Linked DNA regions of Homo sapiens: regions 1, 2, 3 and 5 are each linked to region 4. Evidence: promoter capture Hi-C in 16 types of primary human blood cells and fetal thymus (Javierre and others, 2016). All regions are on one chromosome and are shown on one strand. The core of a region is centred on a gene start or on the middle of the fragment in contact, and the rest is flanking DNA. Distances in the headings are between cores, read along the strand shown. Region 1 overlaps NEMP1 (nuclear envelope integral membrane protein 1). Region 2 overlaps ZBTB39 (zinc finger and BTB domain containing 39). Region 3 holds the start of STAT2 (signal transducer and activator of transcription 2). Region 4 holds the start of BAZ2A (bromodomain adjacent to zinc finger domain 2A). Region 5 has its middle 2.7 kb from the start of NEMP1.

The links. The method cuts DNA at HindIII sites, captures the fragments that hold promoters and counts their contacts. A CHiCAGO score of 5 or more calls a contact.
Region 1: a contact is called between a fragment that was not itself captured here and the fragment with the promoter of BAZ2A in region 4, in 5 of 17 cell types (naive B cells, total B cells, naive CD8 T cells and 2 more). The highest score is 7.2, in naive B cells.
Region 2: a contact is called between a fragment that was not itself captured here and the fragment with the promoter of BAZ2A in region 4, in 4 of 17 cell types (megakaryocytes, naive B cells, endothelial precursors and 1 more). The highest score is 7.5, in megakaryocytes.
Region 3: a fragment that was not itself captured here is called in contact with the fragment with the promoter of BAZ2A in region 4 in 1 of 17 cell types (endothelial precursors); the score reaches 6.4 in endothelial precursors.
Region 5: a fragment that was not itself captured here is called in contact with the fragment with the promoter of BAZ2A in region 4 in 8 of 17 cell types (fetal thymus, total CD8 T cells, naive CD8 T cells and 5 more); the score reaches 8.5 in fetal thymus.

What each region holds. Positions count from the first base shown.
Region 1 is chr12:57,063,636-57,066,335 of GRCh38, reverse strand. NEMP1 (nuclear envelope integral membrane protein 1) reads left to right here. Exons shown (of 9, transcript NM_001130963.2): 5 at 1,597-1,690; 6 at 2,151-2,265. Among named protein-coding and RNA genes, the nearest start is that of NEMP1, 14 kb to the left of the region's middle. The HindIII fragment of the contact is 9,125 bases long and covers 1-2,700 here.
Region 2 is chr12:56,999,394-57,002,093 of GRCh38, reverse strand. ZBTB39 (zinc finger and BTB domain containing 39) reads left to right here. Exons shown (of 2, transcript NM_014830.3): 2 at 1-2,700. Among named protein-coding and RNA genes, the nearest start is that of ZBTB39, 5.8 kb to the left of the region's middle. The HindIII fragment of the contact is 2,971 bases long and covers 1-2,700 here.
Region 3 is chr12:56,357,521-56,360,220 of GRCh38, reverse strand. It overlaps STAT2 (signal transducer and activator of transcription 2), which reads left to right and starts at 114. Exons shown (of 24, transcript NM_005419.4): 1 at 114-163. RefSeq lists enhancers at 1,047-1,216, 1,048-1,247. The HindIII fragment of the contact is 832 bases long and covers 838-1,669 here.
Region 4 is chr12:56,629,027-56,631,726 of GRCh38, reverse strand. It overlaps BAZ2A (bromodomain adjacent to zinc finger domain 2A), which reads left to right and starts at 1,401. Exons shown (of 29, transcript NM_001300905.2): 1 at 1,401-1,602. RefSeq lists enhancers at 1,095-1,164, 1,195-1,244 and a silencer at 1,465-1,814. The HindIII fragment of the contact is 7,835 bases long and covers 1-2,644 here.
Region 5 is chr12:57,080,156-57,082,855 of GRCh38, reverse strand. It overlaps a transcript of NEMP1 not described here. Among named protein-coding and RNA genes, the nearest start is that of NEMP1, 2.7 kb to the right of the region's middle. The HindIII fragment of the contact is 3,582 bases long and covers 1-2,700 here.

The DNA.
Region 1 (2,700 bases), core at 92-2,591, 430 kb before region 4:
TGATATGGAGAGAGTTTTAGTTGGCTGTTGAGAAGATTAAACCAGATACAACTCTTTTTTTGTTTGTTTGTTTGTTTTTTTGAGACAGAGTCTTGCTCTCTTGCCCAGGCTGGAGTGCAGTGGCGTGATCTCGGCTCACTGCAAGCTCCGCCTCCCAGGTTCATGCCATTCTCCTGCCTCAGCCTCCCTAGTAGCTGGGACTATAGGCGCCTGCCACCACACCCAGCTAATTTTTTTGTATTTTTAGTAGAGACAGGGTTTCACCGTGTTAACCAGGATGGTCTCGATCTCCGGACCTCGTGATCCTCCCATCTCAGCCTCCCAAAGTGCTGGGATTACAGGCTTGAGCCACCATGCCCGGCCAGATACAACTTTTTTAAAGCTAAAGGCTGATCCAGAGCAAGACCCTAACTGTCTTCAATTCTGTGAAGGGTGAGAGGTGAGGAAGCCTCAGAAGAAAAGTTTACAGCTAGTGAAGGTTCTTGGTTCATGAGATTTAAGGAAAGAAGCTGTCTTATTACATAAGTGCAAGGTAGGCTAGGCGTGGTGGCTCAGGCCTGTAGTCCCAGCACTTTGGGAGGCTGAGGCGGGCAGATCACTTGAGCCCAGGGAGTTCGAGACCAGCCTGAGCAACATGGTGAAACCCTGCCTTTACAAAAAATACAAAAAAGTCATGGTACCAGCTACTCGGGAGGCTGAGGTGGGAGAATCACCTGGGCCCAGTAGATCAAGGCTGCAGTGAGCCATGATGACGCCATCGCACCCCAGCTTGGGCAACAGAGTGAGACTTTGTCTCAAAAAAAAAAAAAAAAAAGATGAACCAAGCACTGATATAGAAGCTGTAGCAAGTTATTCAGAAGATCTAGCTAACATCATTGTTGAAAGTGGCTACAATTAAAGAGCTCCTCAGTGTAGACAAAATAGCCTTATACTAGAAGAAGATGCCATTGAGGACTTTGATAGCGAGAGAGAAGTCAGTGCCTAGCTTCAAAGGAGGGGTGATCCTCTTGTTAAGGGTTAATGCTGTTGGAGGATTGACTCCAGTTTTGAAAGAAGTTGTGGTAAAATGCTATCAGACAGTATTGCATGCTTTAGAGAAATCTTCATTGAAAGGATGAGTCAATGCAGCAAACTTCATTATATTTTAAGAAATTGCCACAGCCACTCCAGCCTTCAGAAACCACTGCCTTCATCAGTCAACAGCCATCAACATGGAAGTGAGACCCTCCACCAGCAAAAAAAATGATGACTCACTGAAGGCGTAGATGATCTTTAGCAGGTTTTAGCAAAGTATTTTTAATTAAGGAATATATATTTTTAAGACATAATGCTGTTGTACACTTAATATACTATAATATAGTGTAAACAATTTTTATATGCAGTGGGAAACCAAAAAATTTGTGTGACTTACTTACTGCAATTGCAATATTTGGTTTATTGCAGTGGTCTGGAACCAAATTTGAAATGTCTCTGATGCTTGTACTGCTCTAATCTTGTACCTTTTAAAATCTTTCGGCTGGGTTAGTTGTCCTAGTTTCAACAGTGCTATGTATGAAATATATACATATGGTCATGAAATACATTTTTTTCCTGCAGAAGTCAAATTTTCTACTACTCTACTGGGATGACTGTGGGAATTGTGGCCTCTCTGCTAATCATCATTTTTATACTATCTAAGTTTATGCCTAAGGTAAGTATCAGAATCTTCATGTGCAGCTAGAATGAATTTGGATAGCTGAAGGACTGTTTTCCTGGGTAATCTTAGAAAACTGAAAATGTGTATTGATGGCTGATGAGTCAATATCCTACTCTCCTTGATTCAGAAAGGTACTTTCCACGATGAAACTTGGAGCCTGATTACAAATTCTTTCTTTTTATATAAAATCCTGTGCTCAGAGGGGGATTAAAGTCTGCTTCCTGTTTTTTAATTATATAGCCAGGCTTTTAAGTTATTTAGCATTTCATCTTCCCAGTGTTCGTTGCAGACTGTACCATTTTAAGTATAAAGGACATCTTTTTAAGAGAAGTGTTTTTTGTGCATTTTGAGTAGGTTGAATTTTTTAAAAAAAAAATCATAGTTCCATTTTGCTTCTTTTATGTATGGAAAGCCTGTTGTAACTTTTTGCTTTCACTTCTACTCTCTGTCTTAGAAAAGTCCCATTTACGTCATCCTGGTGGGAGGCTGGTCTTTTTCTCTGTACCTCATTCAACTAGTTTTTAAAAATTTACAAGAGATCTGGAGGTGTTACTGGCAGTATCTTTTAAGTAAGTGTTGTCGGTTTTGCTTTCCTTTTGTACGTTTATAGGCTGTTTCAGTTAATTTGATCATGAAAAGATTTTGCCTGCTTATGGGATTTAATAGTTCATGTCATTTTTTTAAACTTTTAAAAATCATAGTTTTTCACTTATTTCTAATCCCTCTACAATTATCACCTTCTCTTAAATTAGAATGGTGCTGTTAAGGCGAAGATGTTCATTTATTGGTATTTATAAATATACCTTTCTTTACACAATAAACATCTTTCTGAAAAGCTGTAAGTTGACTTTATTAATGGAATCATATTTTAAATATACTTGGGGACCTTAAGTAAAAGACTCCGCAGTTAATTTTTTTCTCCTTCATTTCTGAATGAACTGCTGTAGATTTTATTTACAAAGTAAAAATCCTTGGTCATATAGATAGTAACCTTTGAGTTATCC
Region 2 (2,700 bases), core at 195-2,694, 370 kb before region 4:
CCACCAGAAGTGGCAGCCTGGATGGACAGGAGAGGTTTCTCTTTTCTCCTCATTTCCAAAGAAACAGGATTTTATGGAGTGATGGCCCGGGACGTCCGGCCTTCTGTGGGGCAGAGAGGATAGGGAACCACTTTGATATAGTCATCTGTTTTGGCCACTTCTGTTGGCCATGAGTGTCTTGGTGGAGAGGTGGGGATGTATCTGACAGCAGCAGCCTTGCCTTAATTTATATCTGGTCTCCCGTCCAGAAGTGTTTGGCCCGTGGTGTAGATGAGCTGACTCCATGAAGTGGTGGAGTGGCAGACCGCGAGCCCTTCAGGATTAAAGGGACCTGAGTAACTGGTGGTGTGTAGCAGGGTGTGCGTTCTGACTGTCTGTCCTAGTCGGGTAACCTGTTTACTTTGTGCTAACAGTGCCGGAGCTTTGTCAGCTCACCTTTGACCTGCTGGAATTTATCCTGATCTGTCGTTGCCATCACCTCCAGGGGGCGCTATTGGATGGCAGCTGGTTCAGGCCCTCCGTGGGTGGCTGCAGAGTGTGCCGGCACAGCCCACGCAGCTGGTTAGCTCCACTCTTACTTGGTTTTCTAAGGGGCTTTGCCCAAAGAAGTCTTGAGGGATAGGGCCCTCGATCTTGCATACTTGTGAGGTGCCACCTCAGTAGCTCATACTACCTCACCCTGCTCAGGTGAGCTCTGGGAGTCCCTGGCCTCAGCCCTGGCACTGCCCCTGGTGGGATTCAGCAACACCCCGGGCTGTTTCACAAGCAAGTGGTTTTCATTAACTCACAAAGCCTTTTTGGACATTAATATTTATTTATTTTTGTTTTTGTATACACATTACCCAGCATCTCTTTTGTATAAGAGACTTTAGGAAAATGAGTTTCTCCCCAGCAAGTAGCCATATTCCAGAGAACAGCCTTGACCAGAGATGTGGAGAACCAGGGGTATAACTAAGGGAAGACATGTCAAGCCCTTAAGCAAATTCTTCTTCTCCAGATTGTCTCTAGCATAATAAACCCAGGGAACACTTTAGGCCATGGGTGTATGTTCTATAAAGTTCGGGACAGTTAAATTCCAGGCCTTTCATCCCCCTTCCTTCCTGTGATGGAGTAGATTGGGGACAGGGTTGAGGGGAACAAGTGACATGAATGACCTATTTGCACAGTTTGGAAGCCTCCTGTCTTTATTTATATTGAGATGTCAGACAAACCAAAGCTCCATCCTTGTTGGACCTGCTGCTTCTCCCCAGCCCTGAACTGATAAAGCCTCAGAGTTGGAGTGCCTGGCTCTCTGGTGGGGTGACCATTAGATGAAGGGACTTGTACAGTGGCCAGTTTAAAGGTCCACCTTTGACCATCTAAACCCACCTTGTTCAGTGTCCTCTGAGGACATCCTCATCAGGAAAGCAGTGTTGAGACTCTTCATTGCTGACTGGCTTCTCCCTTTCTTACTCACACTGACCATTAGAATTTAAGAAGGAAATGTGTAACAGACTACAGTCAAGTGTCTGCTACATTTTCAAGCATGAGCAATCCCTCCCAGACTGTTGGTGAGGACTGATTTTTGAAATGCTGGTGTGAGAGAGGTGGTAATTACAGGAACCAGCCGAGTGGCTGAGAGCAGATAAATGTGCTGGAGAAACCTTTTTCCTTAACAGAGGGCATCATGGATGCTGGGTGGTCTGTGTACTTAACCTGAAACTGTGAAGTTTTCCCTTTTTGCCAGTAAACCAAAAAGCAGATCCTTGAAACTTGGCCCTTGAAACACGAAACAGAAAACTGCATCCCCTGATCCCCCGGGGGCTGATCAGATTGATCAGGGTGGCTCAGTTGGTCCCAGTCAGATACGTCATAGGATCAGTAGCTCATGAGATTTGTTGACCAAACCCTCTCCCTGTTGGTGACCCCTGTATTCACACCTGAACTTCCCGTTTCCCCCCACCCCACCAAAGTCATGTCTGCTTCCTCTGCCTCCAGCTCACCCTCTTCTGAATGGTTTTGCTTGAAACACTATATTGTGGCAGAGGGCACCCTGGGATACCTGGTAGAAGGTATTCATTTTATTTTGCATTTTTAATTGTTTTGACTTTCTGTTCATTTGATTTTGTTGCTCCCTCTCTCCTGGAACCTAGTTTACTACTCTCTTCTGTGTTACTCTGAAGTTCTGTTTAAGCCTTGAACATCCTCTTCTCCCATTTTCTTGGTATGTACTCAGGACCAGCTACATCATTTGTGGAGCCCTCTTATTCATAAATTATTAAAAATTTCAAGGTGGTGGTCATAGAGCATTAAACCAAATATGAGGCCATTCCCAACTTGTTTTCCGAGGGGAAAATGGTAATACTTGTGTGGCACCCGGGGTTAAACAGCAGAGGCTCCATGTGGCCAGAGGCAGAGATTAGTATCCTGGCACTCCAGTGACCCACTGGGTGACTCACTGATGCCACAGCACCCGCTAGGAAGCTCTGCTGAACCTTAGTATTTGGTCCTAAATTTTATGACTCCATGGAGTTCCCGTAGTCCATGGCTAGTTAGGAAGAAAGGAGGTGGGATAAGGGTCAGGCCCAGGTGACCCCTAAGAACCAGGAGATGGGTAAAAGTTTTTTTTTATATTCTGCTTTTCTGATCTGTGAGTACCTGTTTGTCTCCAGGCCAAACCTTTGGGCTTAAATATCTTTTTCCTAGACAGGTTTTTGCTAG
Region 3 (2,700 bases), core at 4-2,503, 270 kb after region 4:
GGGGCCGCTCCGGACTTCCGCTGCCAACTACAAGGGGGCGGGTCCGAGGGGGGTTAGCCGAAGTTGTAGGCGGGGCGCGAGGTTCTAGTACCCGAGCTCATACTAGGGACGGGAAGTCGCGACCAGAGCCATTGGAGGGCGCGGGGACTGCAACCCTAATCAGGTACGGGCCCTGAGAGGGTGTGCTGGGGTAGGGGTGGGGGTGAGAGTGAGAGTTCCTCCGAGGGAAGGGCGACTGGCCCCAGGGGTTACCCCCTGGAGAGGGTAGCTTCGGTCCCCAGATTGAAATAGGAGCTGTCGCCTGCTCGGTCCTCGATCTTCTTCTGTCCAGCCTATCTCCCTAACCCTAATGCCCCTCTCCCAAAACTGCCCTGCAGCTTCCGAGACCCGGAATCTGGCATTGTTATGTTGGTTCGGTATCTGACGTTTTTCCCTCTGCTCTGCATTATTTTTTATCTTCACCAAAAAACGATGTTCAAAGATAGATAAATCTAAAAACAAAGATAGATAAATCTATTATCCTTGTTTTGTTAAAAAGTATAAGCTACTGAAAGATGAAACGATTGCCTAAGGTCACACACAAAATTCAGTTCATTTCAGAAAAGCTTCTTGAGTGCAAAATATGTGCCTAAGAATGAGAGATAATGAGAAAAAATTGTTTCAGCCCTTAACCTCAGTGTTTGCAATCCATTTGGGGAGACCAGGTTTTTTGTTTTGTTTTCATATTTGAATCTTTGCTGACTTGCTCCTTTAATATCAGACACTTAAATCCTCAAGAATTGGGACCTCATCATTAATTTTTTTTTGGAGATGGAATCTCACTATGTTGCTCAAGCTTGGTCTCAAACTCCTGGGCTCAAGCCATCCTCTCGTCTTGTGGGCCTCACAAAGTGCTGGGATTACAGGCATGAGCCATCATGCCTGGCCACCTGATCATTTTTTTAACTTTTTTTTGGTATCATAAAAGCAATACAGATACATAGTTTTAAAAATCAAGCACTACTAAAAGAGTTAAAATGAAAATAGCCCCTGCCCAATCCCTCCCTTCCCTTGTTCCTGCTGGAGGTAGAAAGGCAGCTGATGTTATTCATGTTAGTAGAAGACTCTCCCACCCCAAGCATTTCTCTTTATTTTGTAATAAAATCATGTGACCTTTTTAGACCACAAATATGCATGAATTCTGTTCTGTTAGGCTCAGGCTGCAACAAGCATAAGTTTCAGTTTCCTAAATAGACACCAGCTGGCAGTGAGCAGGGAACAGTGGGGAGAAAGATGCATGGGACAGCCTGCTTGGTGACAGGCAAAAACCAATTTGTTGTTCTTTTGAGACAGAGTCTTGCTTTGTCACCCAGGCTGGAGTGTAGTGATGTGATCTCTGCTTACTGCAACCCCTGCCTCCTGGGTACAAGCCATTCTCCTGCCTCAGCCTCTTGAGTAGCTGGGATTACAGGCAACAATTTTAAGTGAAGTTTCAGGATCTCACAAAGTTGATAACCTATAATCATATTCAAGATTCACAGGTCATAAACGTGTCATATTCTTGGGATTGAGCCACCCATTGCACAGCATTTAGATGTCTTCTAGAATGGAGCTCCTCCTTCCTATATGGAGGGCAGTTTATATGGTGTACTTACCTGACCACCAAAAAGATTTGGCTCCTAAAAAAGCTTCAGGTGGCCGGGCATGGTGGTTCACCCCTGTAATCCCAGCACTTTGGGAGGCCAAGGTGGGCAGATCACCTGAGGTCAGAAGTTCCAGACCAGCCTGGACAATATGGTGAAACCCCATCTCTACTAAAAATACAAAAATTAGCTGGGCATGGTAGTGGGCGCCTGTAATCCCAGCTAGTCGGGAGGCTGAGGCAGGAGAATCCCTTCAACTCGGGAGGCAGAGTTTGCAGTGAGCCGAGATCGTGTCACTGCACTCCAGCCTGGGTGACAGAGCAAGACTCCATCTCAAAAAAAGAAAAAAAAAAAAAGAAAAAAAAAAGCTTCAGAGCCAGCAGGGATCATGCTGTAATAAATACTTAACATCAACACTGATCTTTAAATGCTTTAGCACAATCAAATATAAATAACAAACACACACATAAATGCAAAATAAATGAATTAGGGAGATAGATGAAATAAGATTGTGGAAATAGTAATGTTTGTTAAAGCTGGATGGTGATCCTTGTACTATTCACTCTACTCTAGTGTGTATTTGAAAATTACCATTAGGCTGGTTATGGTGGCTCATGCCTGTTAATCCCGGCATTTTGGAAGGCTGAGGCAGGCGGATTACTTGAGCTCAGGAGTTTGAGATCTGCCTGGGCAACATGGCAAAATCCCATCTCTACAAAAAATTAGCTGGCATGATGGCACACTCCTGTAGTCCCAGCTCCTTGAGGGGCTGAGGCAGAGAATGGCTTGAACCTGAGAGGTCAAAGCTGCAGTGAGCCAAGATCATGCCACTGCACTCCAGCCTGGGTGACCAAGTGAGACCCTGTCTCAAAAAAAAAAAAAAAAAAAGAAAGAAAATTCCCATTAAAGCACAAAGGCCCACTTATTGAAGCTATTAAAATACAGGTTGGGGCCGGCTGGGCACAGCGGCTCACGCCTGTAATCCCAGCACTTTGGAAGGCCGAGGTAGGCAGATCACGAGTTCAGGAGATCGAGACCATCCTGGCTAACACGGTGAAACCCCATCTCTACTAAAAAT
Region 4 (2,700 bases), core at 152-2,651:
CATCCCCACTCTGTTGCTTTTCCAGAATATTCAGCAGCCTGAGCTTTGCACAGTTTAGGCAACTGTTTCTAGAACTGCATTGCATTGAATTAAATGGGAATTATCTTCAAGGCTGCAAAGTGTTGAGTTGCAAGGAAAGGAAACCTGGTTTCCTTTCTTGTCATATTTTATCCACTGTTTGACATTGAAGAAGTCATTGAACCTCTTTGGGTCTTAATTTCTTCATTTGATGAAGGAGAGAAGGTTGAACTAGAATTTTTTTTTTTTTTTTTTTTTGAGATAGAGTCTCCCTCTGTCACCCAGGCTGGAGTGCAATGGCGCGATCTCAGTTCACTGCAACCTCCACCTCCCAGGTTCAAGCGATTCTCTTGCCTCGGCCTCCTGAGTAGCTGAGATTACAGGGGCACGCCACCACACCCAGCTAATTTTTGTATTTTTAGTAGAGACCGGGTTTCATCATGTTGGTCAGGCTGGTCTTGAACTCCTGACATCATGATCCACCTGCCTCGGCCTCCCAAAGTGCTGGGATTACAGCCGTGAGCCACCGCGTCCGGCCTGAACTAGAAATTCTCTAAGCTCTAACATCATATGACACTGTTCTTCATCCTGGTGCCCTGCAGTGGACATTTTAGGTGACAGCCAAACTCTAGTCCTCTGCTAGATTTTACTTTTCTGAGTTTTCACACAGTTATGTAGCCCTGTCAGAAAAAAATTCCCAGAACCATAGAATGGGTGGACATTTGTGGCATCTTTTTGCTGATTAGTTTTCAGCTTATCCTTTACTTCTCTGACTGCATTTAGGCTACACTCAGGTCTTTGCTGTCTGGTTCCAGAGCCGAACCTTCTTTCCCCCACGCACAGGAATCTTTCCTTTCCGGTGACCAGGGCCCTGCAGATGTCGCCAGGAAAGTGGTGATCCAGGCAGGACCAGGCTGCACTGAAGGGACAGAGGTGAGTGGGTGGCTGACTCTTGCCTCTCCCCATCCCTTTACTGAATCGCGACCTGAGTGACTAACCTTTCTATTTCCACGTTTCCATTACCCTACCTGGGAAATAACTGCCCCCGAAATTCCCCTGACTCTTACCCCTACCAGCCTGTTAGAGAAGTGGCACCTGCCTTTGGGCCTAGACGTTTGGTCTAGTCTTTTAAGTTAACCTTGGGACTGTGGCATGCCTTTCAGTTTGCCCTGTGTGAAGCAGGACCACTGCCTCCATGAGATGCGGGTGCAGAGGGAGCTGCCAGGTGGGCAAGGTGGCCAGAGTTGCAGGAGGCACAGCGGCGCTAGGACCCAGGTCCGGGTCGGAAAGATGGGCTGGCGGGCTTTAGGACCCTGTGGCGGAGGCCGCGTGGGGAGACTCTCTCCCGGCCGAGGCTTCTCCGCCCCCTCCGGCTCCGACTCACTCCTCCCCCGCCGGCCATGTTGGCTCCTCTCGGGCCCCGCGGTTGAGCCGCGTCCCCCTCCCCCTTCCCGAACCCCGGACCCCAGACCCCCTCCCCAGCGGGCGTCTCCACCCGTTCTGGCGCCCGGAGCGCGGCCATGTGAACCGCTTGTACCCCGGGGAGAGACGAGCCCCGAGCCCGGCTGGACGCCGCTGCCTCAGGTTTGTGGGGTCTGTGGCCAGGGGCCTGAGGGGGAGGGAGCCCCGCTTTCATCCGAGGCTTCCCTCGGGGAACAGAAGCTCCAGAGCCGGCTTGAGCCTTGCCGGGGCGGGAAGCCGACGGGAGCTTATTTCCTGCGAGGATCCAACCCGAGGCGAGGGTCTCCTTGCTCTGGGGTCTGGGAGGAGAACAGGGCTGGTGGGGCTGCTGAGGACCCCGGACGGGGCCGCGGGGGCAGGAGGAGCTGTAGGGGCTCCCGGCGACAGTGAGGAGGCGGAGAAGCCGCCTGGCTGGTGGAGATGACTCCTGTGGGGGACTTGGGGTGGAATCCCCGGGAGGGGCTCCACCTCCTCGGGTGGGGGTGGGGATTGCCTGAGCGCGAGGGGTGGGTGAGGGGGTTCCCTTGGCGGGTTAAAACGCTCCGTTTGCGGGGAGCTGGGCGTTTTGACTGTGGTGAGTGGAGGGCGGAAGGGGTTTCCAGGGGTCTGAGGGTGTCTCCCTCGGGGAGCGCACCCATTCTCTTGAGCGTGAAGATCAGGAGAGGGCCTTCCTTGCTGAGGGTGGTGCTGCGCTTGGCTTGGGGCCCTCGCGTCCCGGGAGAATCGCGCACTCCGGGGATGGAGGTTGATAGGGCTTCCGCTGAGGCTTTCCAATTTGAGCTGGGCTGAGGGGCAGAAGGGAAGAATAAAGAGGAATTCCTTTTTCCAAGGAGATTCCTCACTGAGGGGATCCCCGCTTCCGTGGCAGAAAGATGATACCGCATCATCCCTTTCTTTCCCGGTGTTCCCAGTTTTCAGGAGAAGGCAATGTCAATAGCAGTTGTCCTTTGTAGGGTTAATTGGAGTGAGAGATTTGTCTGCTTTGGGGGACGACGGAGGGGATAGCTTTCCACCTCTATCTGTACACAAACAGCCCCTCCCCCAGCCTCCCGCAGGAAGTGGCCGGGAAATGGCAGCTGTGCGTTTGCTGCTGCGTGTCTTGTTGTTTTGAAATGTCCATTTTAATCAGATTTGGTTTCATTTTCTGAAGCCTTCTGGGCAAGCTTGGATCTTGCCAACCATGTGGCCCGAGAGACCTTTCGTTGGACTTTTTTTTTTTTT
Region 5 (2,700 bases), core at 65-2,564, 450 kb before region 4:
ATTCTTTGTAGAGACGGGGTTTCACTATGTTGCCCAGGCTGGTCTCAAACTCCTAGGCTCAAGTGATCCACCTGCCTCGGCCTCCCAAGACATTGGGATTACAGGCATGAGCCACTGCACCTGCCCAATTTATTCATTTTTTTAGCAACAAGGTCTTACTCTGTCACCCAGGGTGGAGTGCAGAGGCATGATCATGGCTCACTGCAGGCTCAACCTCCCAGACTCAAGTGATCGTCCCATCTCAGCCTCCTGAGCAGCTGGGACTACAGGCACGTGCCAACACACTTGGCTAATTTTTGTATTTTTGTAAAGACAGAGTCCTACTATGTTGCCCAGGCTGGTCTTGAATTCCTGGGCTCAAGCCATCCTCAGACCCGGTCTCCTAAAGTGCTGGGATCACAGGTGTGAACCACTGAGGCTAGCCAACTTTATTTTTAGAAACATTACATGTACAGAAAAATTGAAAAGATAATATGGTGAATTCCTATATACCCTACATTCAATTTCCTCAATTATTATCTGACATTAGTATGGTACATTTAGCACCATTAATGAAACAGTATTGAAACATTATTATTAACTAAAGTCTACAGTTTATTCAGATTTCCTTTGAGTTTTTGTTGTTGTTGTTGTTGTTTAGACTGAGTCTTACTCTGTCACCGGGCTGGAGTGCAGTGGCACTGATCTTGGCTCACTGCTGCAACCTCCGCCTCCCAGGTTCAAGTGATTCTCCTGCCTCAGCCTCCTGAGTAGCTGGGTTTACAGGTGCCCGCCATACGCCCAGCTAATTTTTGTATTTTTAGTAGAGACGGGGTTTCACTATGGTGGCCAGGCTGGTCTTGAACTCCTGATCTCGTGATTCGCCCGCCTTGGCCTCCCAAAGTGCTGGGATTACAGGCGTGAGCCACCATGCTCAGCCTCCGTGTTTTTTTTTGTTTTCTTATTTTTTGAGACGGAGTCTTGCTCTGTCGCCCAGGCTGGAGTGCAGTGGAGCGATCTCAGCTCACTGCAAGTTCCGCCTCCCAGGTTCACACCACTCTCCTGCCTCAGCCTCCTGAGTAGCTGGGACTACAGGTACCTGCCACCACGCCCGACTAATTTTTTTTATTTTTAGTAGAGACGGGGTTTCACCATGTTAGCCAGGATGGTCTCCATCTCCTGACCTCATGATCCGCCCGCCTCAGCCTCCCAAAGTGCTGGGATTACAGGCATGAGCCACCGTGCCCAGCCTCGTTTTTTTAAACTAATGTGTTTTTCTGTTCCAGGATCCCATCTAGACCACCACATTATGTTTAGTTCTCAAAAACATAATGGGCTGGGCATGGTGGCTCATGCCTGTAATCCCAGCACTTCGGGAGGCCGAGGCGGGCAAATCACCTGAGGTCGGGAGTTCAAGACCAGCTTGACCAACATGGAGAAACCCCATCTCTACTAAAAATATGAAATTAGCTGGGCGGGGTGGCACACACCTGTAATCCCAGCTACTTGGGAGGCTGAGGCAGGAGAATCGCTTGAACCTGGGAGGGGGAGGTTGCGGTGAGCCAAGTTTGTGCCATTGCACTCCAGCCTGCTCAACAAGAGTGAAACTCTGTCTCAAAAAACAAAAACAAAAAAGCCCATAATGATGTTTGGATGACTTTGACAGCTTTGAGGAGTACTGGTCAGGTATTTTGTAGGATGCCTCTATTGGAATTTGTCTAATGTTTTTCTCAAGATTAGAGTGGTGTTATGGGTTTTGGGAAGGAAAACCACAGAGTTAAAATGCCATTTTCATCTCATGTTATCAAGGGTACATAGTATCAACATGATTGATGCTGACTTCCCTAGGTCAGCTGAGGGAGTGTGTGTGTGAAATACAGGATGACCATATCAGCACTGTTGGCCTAGACTTTTCCTTCTGAGAATGAAATCTCTTCTCTTGCCCATAGCTCAGCCCCATTTTGACTTTTTTTTTTTTTTTTTGAGACAAGAGAGGCTCGCTCTGTCACCCAGGCTGGAGTGAAGTGGCATGATCTCGGCTCACTGCAACCTCTGCCTCCTGGGCTCAAGCAATTCTTCTGTCTCAGACTCCTAAGTAGCTGGGATTACAGGAACCTGCCACCATGCTGGGCTAATTTTTGTATTTTTATTAGAGATAGGGTTTTGCTGTGTTGGCCAGGCTGGTCTCGAACTTCTGGCCTCAAGTGATCCTCCCACCTCAACCTCCCAAAAGTGCTGGGATTACAGGCATGAGCCACCATGCCCAGCCCATTTTGACTTTTTTTTTTTTTCTCTTTTGAGACAGAGTCTTGCTCTGTCACCCAGTCTGGAGTGCAATGGGGCGATCTTGGCTCACTGCAGCCTCCGCCTCCTGGGTTCAAGGGATTCTCCTGCCTCAGCCTCCTGAGTAGCTGGGCTTACAGCCACCTACCACCATGCCTGGCTAATTTTTGTATTTTTAGTAGAGACGGGGTTTTGCCATGTTGGCCAGGCTGGTCTCGAACTCCTGACCTCAGTTGATCCACCCGCCTCGGACTCCCAAAGTGTTAGGATTACAGACCTGAGCCACCATGCCCGGCCCATTTTGACTTTTAAAAAGGTCCTTGTTTTAGACCAGGTGCAGTAGCTTACTCCTGTAATTTCAGTAATTTGGGAGGCCAAGGTGGGATAATCACTTGAGGCCAGGAGTTTGAGGTCAGCCTGGGCAACATAGCAAGATAT